Linked DNA regions of Homo sapiens: region 2 is linked to region 1. The links are contacts of gene promoters, found by promoter capture Hi-C in human tissues and cell types (Jung and others, 2019). All regions are on one chromosome and are shown on one strand. The core of a region is centred on a gene start or on the middle of the fragment in contact, and the rest is flanking DNA. Distances in the headings are between cores, read along the strand shown.

Region 1 (6,173 bases), core at 824-3,323:
AAAGTGGAAGCAATTTTTAGAGTTGTCCTGAGCATTAGCAATCCTATGTCAAGTGCCTGGAGGGAACACAGTGGGCATCTCAACAAATGGTGGGTGCTCACCACTTGAAAGTGAGTTATGGGTTTAAGCAAGTTGAATCTGAGGTGAGGGCAGAACTTCCAGATGAAGTCAGAATTGCAAAGGCCATAAAGCCCAGGGTTTAAGCACTGAAGCCATGGAATTGGCCTGCCTGGGCTCCAATCCCTACTCTGCCGCTTCAATGCTGAATGACCTGACAAGTCAGTTTACCTGTCTGAGCCTGTTTGCTCATTTGTAAAATGGGGCTAAAAATACTACCTCCCTAGGTTTGTTTTGAGTATAGGGTAATATGTGGGCAGTGCTTAGGAACAGAGTTTGGGCATTGTCAGTGCTGAATTCATGTTGGTTTTTATAATGGTGTGTATAATGGATGTAATGATAAATTTATGGTGATGTAATATTACCATAAGGTAATATTTTCCTGTATTAAGATTCTTGAGGTCAGGCACAGTGGCTCACGCCTATAATCCTAGCACTTTGGGAGGCCGAGGTGGGTGGATCACCTGAGGTCAGGAGTTCAAGACCAGCCTGGCCAAAAAGGTGAAACCTCGTTTCTACTAAAAATACAAAAATTAGCTCGGCGTGGTGGTGCCCACCTGTAAGCCCAGCTACTTGGGAGGCTGAGGCAGAATTTCCTGAATCTGGAAGGCAGAGGTTGCAGTGAGCCGAGATCGTGCCATTGCACTCCAGCCTGGGTGACAGAGCAAGACTCCGTCTCAAAAAAAAAAAAAAAAAAATAAATAAATAAATAAATAAAGATTCTTGAATGTGTTAGCCATAAGGGGAAATCAAATCACAACAAAACCCTTTCTTCCCAGTGACTGCACAATCATTTTCTTCATTCCCAGCATACCACCATTGTTGTATATCCACCAGTGTGCCAGGGTCTGTGGATAAACCCTAAACATCCAGAGAAGGGGAGACAGGCCCCAGATTCCCACCCCAACACGCATCATGTGAGCAGCTGGAGGATGTTGCAGTTCAGCAAAATCCAAGGGTTGGCCACAGGATCTGCTAGGCAAAGCTGCTCTGGATGAGAAACTGGGAAGAATGTTCCCATTGGTTTGGGGGTTGTTAAGCCATCAGGAAAAGGTTTGGAATCTGTATTTTAAGAGAGCATGCTATGTGATTCCTTCCTCCAGCCCTGCCTTCATCTGTCTTTCACCTGTTCAGACCCTTGCCGTAGAGAATGGTCTCTTAAGAGTTTTTTACTCAGGAGGAGCAATGAGCTTGGCTTCAAGGAGTCCACTGTTTCGTGAAGGGCATTAACTCAGCTACTTGGTGAACTGGAACCTCCAGGCTTCCAAGGATGACATTTCCCTGGAAGAAAGTAGCCAGCAGCGTCCCCTTTGTGAAAGAGAGGAAGCCTGGGCTCCAGGGAAGGGGGCAACAGTCCAATGAGCCATAGCAGGGAATGGACCGAACTGTACATACAAGATGAGGAGGGGCCTCGAACAACAGGGAAGCCCCGTGGAGCACGCAGGGGAGCCTGGACGCGGGGAATCGCCTCCGTTTCTCACCCTGACAGCAGGGAGGGCTTCCCGGAGCTGACAGTGAGGCAGACATCCCGGATCCCTGTTATCACAGGTGCAGCCACGCAACTTTTGGGTTACCTTCCCGCCACGAAATGGAAATGATTTCCTGAGGGCCGGAAAGATCATTTGCATCGGGCCTCAGGTCTGGGGCTGGGAAAGCAGGCCCCGGCCGGAAAGGAAGACTGGAGGCCGCCGCCCCAGAGGCCGGACCCTCGCGTCCCGGCCGCATCCCCTCCCGGCTGGGTATGCGCTTCGGGCGCGGGGCTCCCTCGCGAGGCTGGACTGGGTGGAGCCCGAGAGCCCCTCCGGGGAGCTGGCTGCCGGGGAGGCACCGGGGCTGCGGGGCCGCGGGGCGGGCCGGGCCTGGAGCTCCGCGCTAGAGGCGGCCGCAGCGCACCGGGCGTGGGCGGGGCCGGCAGCGCAAGGGTGAATGTCGGCCCCGCCCCGACGGCGCTGACTCAGTTTCACCAGAAACCAGGGGGAGAAGGCGGCCGAGCCCCAGCTCTCCGAGCACCGGGTCGGAAGCCGCGACCCGAGCCGCGCAGGAAGCTGGGACCGGAACCTCGGCGGACCCGGCCCCACCCAACTCACCTGCGCAGGTAACCCGGGCCCCCGCGCGCAAGGCCGAGGCGCAGGCGGAGCGGGCTGGAGCATGTCCGGCCCTTTGTTCTGCGCTCGTGCGTGTGTCCGGGTACTTGAGCTCCCTAGCGGTCCGCCTGTCCGTCTGTCTGGCTGCCGGGTCCCTGGAGGGCGCGTGGGAGGGCCGGGCCCGTGCGCCCTCTTCGATCCTGGGGTGCTCCGGTCCCTCCTCCCCGCCACTTCCTCCCGGCCGGCCCGCCTCCTCCAAAGTCTCCCGGGCTGATCAGGTGTGTCTCCTCCTCTGTCCCCTCCCTTCTTCTCAGGTCACCAGCACCCTCGGAACCCAGAGGCCCGCGCTCTGAAGGTGACCCCCCTGGGGAGGAAGGCGATGGCCCCTGCGAGGACGATGGCCCGCGCCCGCCTCGCCCCGGCCGGCATCCCTGCCGTCGCCTTGTGGCTTCTGTGCACGCTCGGCCTCCAGGGCACCCAGGCCGGGCCACCGCCCGCGCCCCCTGGGCTGCCCGCGGGAGCCGACTGCCTGAACAGCTTTACCGCCGGGGTGCCTGGCTTCGTGCTGGACACCAACGCCTCGGTCAGCAACGGAGCTACCTTCCTGGAGTCCCCCACCGTGCGCCGGGGCTGGGACTGCGTGCGCGCCTGCTGCACCACCCAGAACTGCAACTTGGCGCTAGTGGAGCTGCAGCCCGACCGCGGGGAGGACGCCATCGCCGCCTGCTTCCTCATCAACTGCCTCTACGAGCAGAACTTCGTGTGCAAGTTCGCGCCCAGGGAGGGCTTCATCAACTACCTCACGAGGGAAGTGTACCGCTCCTACCGCCAGCTGCGGACCCAGGGCTTTGGAGGTGAGGAGGGTGCCAAGATGGATGGGTTTGGAGAGACTCAAAAAAGGGACTGGTTATGGGGTCCTAGGGGAGACGAACATCAGAGAGGAGTTAAGGAGAGTTCACTTTTTTTTTTCTTTTTCTTTCTTTTTTTTTGCGACGGAGTCTCGCTCTTGTCGCCCAGGCTGGAGTGCAATGGCGCAATCTCTGGTTGCTCACTGCAACCTCCGTCTTCCACGTTCAAGTGATTCTTCTGTCTCAGCCTCCGGAGTAGCTGGAACTACAGGCACCCGCTACCAGACCCGGCTAATTTTTTTTTTTTTTTTTTTTTTTTTTTTTTTGGTACAGACGGGGTTTCACTATGTTGGCCAGGCTGGTCTTGAACTTCTGAACTCAGGTGATCCACCCACCTTGGCCTCCCAAAGTGCTGGGATTATTTCTACCTGAAGCCCTCCTTAGAAGTAGGCAGTACAGCCGAATCAAGCCTGGTGATCAATGGGGTGACAGATGTCACAGCCAGATCGCCTTCACATCGGTAGTAGGCAGTACAAACAGTAAACAAATGAAAGGGGACATGAGTAGGGAGGGCAGGGCCCAGGCTCTGGCTCCTGAACTCAGGATGTTCAGAGGTGATGGGCTGGTGCTCACAGGGAGGCCTTTGGCTCTGGGCTGTGTGTACTGGAGGGGAGAGGAAGTCCCCAGGACTCCTGACCTCTGGCACTGATAGGCTGATTGAAGGAGTGAGCTGTCTGGATGGTCTGGTGACTAGAAAGGCACCTTGGCCAAGCACTGGTCTGGGCACACCGATGCCCTGTCAGGTGAGCCTGGCCATAGTCTCCTCCACTGGCTGGACTTGGGACTGCTTAGCATCTCTCTACCCCCTAGGAATGCATTGGCCTTTTGGTGGTCCAGGAAGACTGCCAGATCCGAGACTAGAAAACAAGCCCAGTCTGCGGTTGATCCAAAGGGAGAGAAGTGATGTTGTAGGCACAGAAGCCTAGAGGCTCTGGGGTGGGGGATGAGGAGGGTTGTGGGGTGAGTCAGCCTGTTGGTATGTATACCTAGTAGGGAAGGGATGTCAGCTGTCCAGGCAGGTGTGTGTGCATGCGCATGAGCCAGACAGGGCTCTCCCTGCTTAGAATCTGGTAGCCAAACCTTGTTTACTTCCATAGATAAAGGCAAAGCGGAGGCCAGGGCTCCTCCTCTTTCTTCCCCGGACTGAACTGTCTGCTGGGATCAGGGCCAGTCCAGAGCCTTGGTTCCCCCTTTCTCTCTACCTGCTGTTCTGGCCAGGTGGGGCTCCAGGGCAGGGGTAGGTCACCTCTCATAACCTCTGTGAGCACTTTACAGCTTACTGATTGCTGTGCCACACATCCTCTCACTCAGGCCTCATCACAACAACTTCCAAAAAGGGTGCTACTAGCAGTCATCCCACTTTTTAGATTAGGAAACTAAGACTCCCATGTTAAAGAATTTGCCCAGGGTAACACTGCCCATAAATGGTAGGCCTGAGATTCACCCCAGGGGAGACCTCCAAAAAAAGTCCTGTGCTGTTTTTCACACAAGACCATCTCTCTGGTAAAAACCTAGCATTCTGACCCAAAATAGCCCAGTGGATAACAGAACCGGGGATTGGGGAGTTTGGGGGCCAGAACTGGGCTGGGGCCACATCTGGGGGTGGTCTCCGTTCTGGAAAGTGGAGAAAGGGCTTTCCTCCGCAGACTTTTCCTGGGCTAGTCTCTCTGCCAGGCTAAGGAGGGTCCTCTTTCCTCCCTATCCTTCCAGTAGCTCTCCTGGGTCTCTGAGGAGAGGCGAGATGGGGATTCCTGTGGATGGGAGGGGGACATATCTGAGGGCCAGTCTGGGCCACCAAGTCCCACTGAACCAGGGCTGCAGCCTGTTCCACAAGGAAGTAGCAGAAAGTGTAGGTGGTGATGACTCTTACTGACCTGAGTTGCTCATGCCCTTCCTGCTCCACAGAGGCCCCATGGGAGTCCCTCTCCAGAGCCAGAGTGTGAAATTCTGGAGTCTGGTCAGGGAGCTTAGCTGGACTATGGCCCCATGGTCTTGAGACCAGCCATCCTCATCTGGAAACCCCCAGGACCTGCCTGTTTGCCACAAGAGAGGGTGGAGTGGGGATTTCCTGGGACATTGAGGGAGGCAGGTAGGGCTTGGACTTAGTATGAGCTCCAGGCCATTCTAGGCCATTCTTAGAGTGCTGCAGTGCTTTGGGAAGAGGAAAAAGCTGTGTGTGTGTCAAGGGGTTTATTCTCACCTGGGTCCAGTTAGAGAGGTTGGAGGTGGGTAATGACAGGGTAGAGCCATTAAGGGCTAGGGTGGATGAGGTGGGTTGGGTGACGTGGGTCACGGGCACTGAGAGCTTCCAAACCTTTGATTCTCCTATTGCATAGATAAATGCTCCCCAGAATGGGTTTGTTTGTTCCTCCTTCTGCCTGTGGCCAGGCCAGGCCAGTACAGATTCCTGCAGCTGGAGGCGGAGCAGCTTGCACTTCCTCTTCTCCCCTTCTCTTCCCCCACCTCTCCTCCTCCCCAGTCCTATGAAGGAGTGGCTTAGGAGGCGGAGTCTGCACTTCCCTGAGGTCCTGAGACCTGGTAACTAACTGGGGGAGGGGCTGGTTTTATTGCCACTCTAGCCCTTTGCTCTCTTGCGGGTGGGAGGAAGGGAGTGGTAAGGCAAGGTACCTGCTCCTTGGTCCTGGGGGCTGGGGCTTGGAGAGGACTGAGTTGTGTTGGGGTGGGATTCAGCCCCTGATTCAGCTCAAAGTCTGATGCATCACTCTGCATGCTACTTCCACTCTGGGGGCCTGGTGGGGCTAGCCTGTCTGTCTGCTAGGCAGACTGCTAAGTAGTCTGTCTTCTTTCTACAAAATGCAAGGAGGGAGGACTGCGCTCCTCCCAGCTCGCTACTCCCTTGGCAGGTGTTCTCAGGGTACTCTCCTGTTTGTCAGCCAAGCCCCTGGGCTGGGAGGTTGCCTCCAGACAGCCACTTTTCGTTCCTGCTCATCCCTGTCTTATTTTCCCTAATCCCTGGAACCCAGTTCTCTTTTTACTATTTTTGTAGGCCTCTGAAACATTCAACATGTTTCTTCCTGAAATCTCTCCCTTCCCATCCCTTTTG
Region 2 (6,111 bases), core at 1,575-4,074, 62 kb before region 1:
CAGGAGTTTAAGACCAGCCTGGCCAACATGGTGAAACTCCATCTCTAAAAAAACGGAACAAAATTAGCCGGGCGTAGTGGTGCATGCCTGTAGTCCCACTATCGTGAGGCTGAGGCACAAGAATCGCCTGAACCCAGAGGGTGGGGGTTGCAGTGAGCCGAGATCATGCCACTGCGCTCCAGCCTAGGTGACAGGGTGAGACCCTGTCTCAAAAAACCATGTTCTTAAAAAAGGTTTAGTACCCACACTTCCTTGTATAGTTATGATAATTAAAGGGACAATAAGGCATTTGTCACAATGCTTAGCTAATATTAAACCTTATTATTGTTATTATTCCTAAGAGTGTCTTTAGGAACCAACCTCTAAGAACAGCGTTTTGCCCAGAGCCTGAGCCAAAAGGCTTTGAGATGAGTTGCTGGAAGTGAAGCTTCAGGTGAGGGAGATGAATGAAAATGACCACAGGAAACCACAGGCCACCGAGCACTATGATGGCACCTACCAAGCTTCACTTTCTTCCTTTTCTCATCAAGTTTCTGGGTCCTCTCTGCTGCTTGCTTCTTGGCTTTCCTGACCTTGTCATATGCAGCCTGGCAGGAGAAAGGGGCACAGGGCAGAGGGTCAGTGAGAGAGTAAAGACAGAGCCCCGGCAATCTGCCTGGCCCCTAGCCCACGAGCCATCAGAGTGGCAGCCTGGTGACTGGGTCTCCTGGGCTTAGACAGCAAGGACTGTGCCACATGGCAAAGGGCAGAGGACCGAGGTTGAGAGGCAGCAGTGGTCTCTAACCATGGGGGACGATTCCGATGAAGGAGGCTGTGCTTACCCTGGCTGCAGCATCGGTCAGCACCTCCAAGGCCTGAGAAAGCTGGTGGAAGAGTTCAGCTAAACATAAGGATCAAAAAGACAGAAGAAAAATAAAGTTAAGACTTCGTAATGGTGTGCTCCCTCAAAAAAAAAAAAAATCTTCAAAGAAGTCACAGGATGGCAGACAAGCCGACATCAGCAGATGACAGACCAACAAGGAGGGGTGAGCATATCAGCAACTGACCAGACACCCCTCACAGGAGGGAAGCCCTGGGACCCATTGCCTGGAGCCAGGCAATGTGTGCTTACACCCCACAGCACTCACATGCAGAGCTTACATCGGGAAACACAATGCCCGGGTGAGTGGGTTTCTTTCTCCCCACGCCCTGAGAAGAGTCTCACCTGCTCTGGGATTATCTGGATTTTTGTCTGGGTGGCAGGAGAGGGCCTTCTGCCTATACGCCTTCTTTACCTGGAAGAGTCAGACAGAAGACATGGCCATTCACTCTCATCCCAGGGACAAACAGGAAAACCTTGCTCAATGGGTAAGGGGAATCCCATGCACACCTAAAAGAGAAGCTGCTGGCGCCCACTTCCTAGCCACCAGGGAGACTGGCAATGGAGGAGGCCAAGGCCATGGAGGGAGTGAGCCACTGTCGCCCAGCACAGGAGCTGGGCCCACCTCCTGCTAAGTGCTCAACCTCACCACTGCAGATGTCCAGGGGCTGCTGCAACAGGCAGGAGCACAGTACCCCGCTTTCTCGACAGCCACTCGAAGACAGGTACTCTACACATTCTTGGTGGGCATATAAACTGGGGCAACCTATCTGGAAGAAAATTCAGCCATCAAAATTTAAAATGTTCTTTCCCTTTGACCCAAGTCCTAGGAATCTGGACTTGTAGAAGTATGGCAAAAATAAATATACAAGGATGCTCTCTACAACACTGTTGATACTAGCCAGCCAAGATCCCCATCAACGGGGAGACTCATTTAAAAGATTATGATTGGCCGGTGCGGTGGCTCACGCCTGTCATCCCAGCACTTTGGGAGGCTGAGGTGGACAGATCACCTGAGGTCAGGAGTTTGAGACCAGCCTCACTAACATAGTGAAACTCCATCTCTACTAAATATACAAAAATTAGCTAGGCATAGTGGCGGGCAGCTGTAATCCCAGCTACTTGGGAGGCTGAGGCAGGAGAATCGCTTGAACCGAGGAGGCGGAGGTTGCAGTGAGCCGAAATCGCACCACTACACTCCGGCCTGGCGACAGAGCAAGACTCTGTCTCAAATAAAATAAAATAAAATAAAATAAAAAATAAAATAAAAGATTATGATTGAGGCCGGACATGGTGGCTCACGCCTGTAATCACAGCACTTTGGGAGGCTGAGGCGGGTGGATCACTTGAGGTCAGGAGTAGGAGACCAGCCTGGCCAACATGGCGAAACCCCATCTCTACTAAAAATACAAAAATTAGCTGGGTGTGATGACATATTCCCCTGTAATCCCCCTACTTGGGAGGCTGAGGCATGAGAATCGCTTGATTCATGCAGGAGGCAGAGGTTGCAGTGAGCCAAGATTGTGCCACTACACTCCAGCCTGTGGGACAAGAGCGAGACTCCATCTCAGAAAAAAAAAAAAAAAAAAAAAGATTATGATTGGCCAGACATGGTGTAATCCTGTAATCCTGGCATGTAATCCTGTAATCCTCATGCCTGTAATCCTGGCACTTTGGGAGGCTGAGGTGGGCAGATCACTTGAGGTCAGGAGTTCGAGACCAGCCTCGCCAACAAAGCAAAACCCTGTCTCTATTAAAAATACAAAAATTAGCCGGGCATGGTGGCGTGCACCTGTAGACCCAGCTACTTGGGAGGCTGAGGCAGGAGAATCACTTGAGCCCCAGAGGCGGAGGTTGCAGTGAGCCGAGATCATGCCATTGTACTCTAGCCTGAGTGACAGAGGGAGACCTTGTCTCAAAAAAATAATAAAAAATAAATTTCAAAAAGTTTGTTCAGGAATTTGCCACGCTTATTAAAATTTTTTTTAAATAAAATATTATAGTAGACAGAGGTATCCATGTTCTGACATAGATCTTATTATAAACTTTTGAGTTTAGTCCAGGTGCGGTGGCTCAAGCCTGTAATCCCAGCACTTTGGGAGGCCGAGACAGGTGGATCACGAGGTCAGGAGATTGAGACCATCCCGGCTAACACGGTGAAACCCCGTCTCTACTAAAAATACAAAAAAATTAGCCAGGCATGGTGGCGGGCGCCTGTAGTCCCAGCTACTCGAGAGGCTGAGGCAGGAGAATCGCTTGAACCTGGGAGGCAGAGGTTGCAGTGAGCCGAGATCACACCATTGCACTGCAGCCTGGGAGACAGAATGAGACTCTGTCTCAAAAAAAAAAAATTTTTTTTTGTCAGGTGTGGTGGTGCATGCCTGTAGTCCCAGCTACTCAGGCGGTTGAGGCGAGAGGATCGCTTGAGCCCAGGAGTTCCAGCCAAGCCTGGGCAACATGGCAAGACCTCATCTCTACAAAAATTTTTTAAACATGAGCCAGGTGTGGTAGCATGTGCCTTTGTCCCCCTACTCAGGAGGCTGAGGTGGGAGGATCACTGGAGCCCGGGAGGTTGAAGCTGTAGTGAGCATGTTCACACCACTGCATTTCAGCCTAGGTGACAGAGTGAGACCTTGTCTCAAAAATAAAAATAAAAAAATTTTAAATTAAATTAAAATAAAATAAAAAATTAGCCAGGCATAGTGGTGCGTGCCTGCAGTACCAGCTACTAAGGAGGTTGAGGAGGGAGGATCACCTCAGCCAAGGATTTTGAGGCTGCCGTGAGCTATGATGATGCCACTGCACTCCAGCCTGGGTGACAGAGCAAGACTCTCTCTTAAATACATAGAAAGAAAGAAACCCCAATATTTCTTACATAAGTAAAAATAAACACAGCTACCAAGATTCTCTTTCGTGTGCTACCTAATAGCTGTTGTAAGTGAAGACAGTGTACACAACCCCAGAATCCGTCCTCTGCCTCCAAGGCCTTTGCTTTCTCCCTTCTGCTTGGTGTGTGTTACCTGCTGCTCAAACCTCCTGGAGGAAGAGCTAAGCAGATTGGATTTCTAAGCTTCCAAGATGGACGCAAGAAACGCTTCTACACCCAAGTGTGCTAAATAAGGACTTTCAGAGGTAAGCAGCCAGCATCCACAAGGTGAGCACCTGCTGGGCAACTCCTCCATCCATGAGGCAGCCACCGGGCCCAGGACCTCTAGGGGTGTGCTGCCACCTGCTGGGCCATAGCCAGGGCACCTGCCATGGCAGCCCAAGCTGTTTGGTTCTCCTGACTGCCTTGGAGGCAGCAGGAACCACCCAGGACAGGCGCTGGGCAGAGAGGGTGTAGACGTGCCACCTGCCTTCCCAATCGCCCACCGAAGCACATCTGCCCTGCCTGCTCACCTCCCACCCTAACCCTCCCTGCCTAGCTCTGTTTTCACTACAAAAAAGAACAATATTAAGGGAAAGGAGGTGCTAGCTTAAGACAGTGTCATCTTTGCAATATATCATCTTTACTTTTTAGGTCCCTTATCATTCGTCTTTTCTTTCTTTTGCTCTCTTTGCCTGCTTTATTGTGCCTCCAGCCTCATTCCTTTACTGAACATATTTTATATTTCAGGGCCCCTGTTTGCTTTTTTTCAATAAGTAAAACAATACCAAAAACATTATAAAGATGTTCTTTCTCAATCTCCCCAGCCCTCTGACATCAAGGTTCATTAACACATATAAAAGCACCTACACACACTGACAGGAGTCTGTTGGGTGTTTGTTCCTGGCCTCTGGGCCCCTCCTCTCTGATCCTATCTCCACCCTCTCTCTGGGATGGGTGAGAGGAAGGGAGGGGGAGGCGGTCCATGTCCCAGTATCTATGGCATCACCTGCAACACTACCTTCAAGATGAACTTCCTCAGGACTAGGACTAGTAGGCTTGCCCCAGGGATGTAGGGGGGTTTTGTGGAAGATGTTTTCTTTTGTATCATGGGGCTCTTTTAAAGTGGTTTAGGCTGGGCATGGTGGCTCACACCTCTAATCCCATCGCTGTGGGAGGCCGAGGTGGGTGGATCACTTGAGGTCTGGAGTTTGAGACCAGCCTGGCCAACATGGTGAAACTTGTATCTACTAAAAATATAAAAATTAGCCGGGTGTGGTGGTGCATGCTTGTAATCTCAGCTATGGGGGAAGCTGAGGCAGAAGAATCACTTGATTCCGGGGGGCAGAGGCTTCAGTGAGCTGAGATCGTGTCACTGTACCCCAGCCTGGGTGACAGAGTAAGGCTCTGTCTCAAAAAAATAAAATAAAAGTTTGTATGTTCCTTGTTATAAATCTGAGAGGGGGAGTAGAAGTGAGTGTGAAGAAGAAGGAGCAGGCTGGGTGTGGTGGCTCACGCCTGTAATCCCAGCATTTTGGGAGGCTGAGGCGGGCGAATCAGTTGAGGTCAGGAATTCGAGACCAGCCTGGCCAACGTGGTAAAACCCCGTCTCTACCAAAAATACAAAAATTAGCTGGGCGTGGTGGCACACGCCTGTAGTCCCAGCTACTAGGGAGGCTGAGGCAGGAACCTGGGAGGCGGAGGTTGCAGTGAGCCGAGATTGCACCACTGCACTCCAGCCTGGGCGACAAAAATAAAATTCTGTCTCAAAAAAAAAAAGAAGGAGCAGTAAGAAAGCAAGACAGAAGGGGTGTCCAGCAGTGGCATCTCCTTCATTTTCTTTCCTTTTTTTGAGAGAATGCTTTCTGAATTTTATTCTAAGGGAATGATAAATATTCTTTTGTGTTTCATAATTTATTTTGAATGTTCTATATTGGAATTTTGGTTTTTCACTGTAATAGGAAAATAAAATTATTCAAGCTGAAAAATCCACTCATATTGTCAAATATGCTTTACATATATTAACTTATTTAATTCTTAAAGCCCCTATGAGGTAGAAATTATTATCCTCCTCATTTTACAAATGAGGAAACTGTGACATAAGGGTTAATTATGATACCCAAAATCCATTCAATGAAAAGCCATACAAACATTACTTTAGGCAAAAACTATTCTACTCCAGCCAATTACCACAGAAAAAACAGTGGACACCACCCCACCCATGCCATCAAAGGCCAGGTAGAGAGCATAGACTTCCATTCTTGCTACCCTAAACCTCTGCCAGAGTGGTGTCAGATAAAGCCAAACAGGGAGGCTAGGACTTTCATCCCCAACAGATGGAAATACAAAAATATAAAAATATCTCTGGGCCGGGCGTGTTGGCTTA

What was found. The method cuts DNA at HindIII sites, captures the fragments that hold promoters and counts their contacts. A contact is called where the count stands out against the background at its distance.
Region 2: a contact is called between a fragment that was not itself captured here and the fragment with the promoter of SPINT1 in region 1, in 2 of the 25 tissues and cell types used here (IMR-90 fibroblasts and lymphoblastoid cells).

What each region holds. Positions count from the first base shown.
Region 1 is chr15:40,841,975-40,848,147 of GRCh38, forward strand. SPINT1 (serine peptidase inhibitor, Kunitz type 1) reads left to right here and starts at 2,074. Exons shown (of 11, transcript NM_003710.4): 1 at 2,074-2,212; 2 at 2,516-3,055. The coding sequence starts at 2,581. It overlaps SPINT1-AS1 (SPINT1 antisense RNA 1), which reads right to left and starts at 2,550. Exons shown (of 2, transcript NR_146468.1): 1 at 2,205-2,550. RefSeq lists silencers at 1,512-1,694, 1,856-2,085, 2,166-2,225, 2,516-2,755 and an enhancer at 1,647-2,218. The HindIII fragment of the contact is 27,771 bases long and covers 1-6,173 here.
Region 2 is chr15:40,778,724-40,784,834 of GRCh38, forward strand. It overlaps DNAJC17 (DnaJ heat shock protein family (Hsp40) member C17), which reads right to left. Exons shown (of 11, transcript NM_018163.3): 2 at 1,205-1,274; 3 at 822-880; 4 at 500-587. Among named protein-coding and RNA genes, the nearest start is that of C15orf62, 12 kb to the left of the region's middle. The HindIII fragment of the contact is 4,719 bases long and covers 466-5,184 here.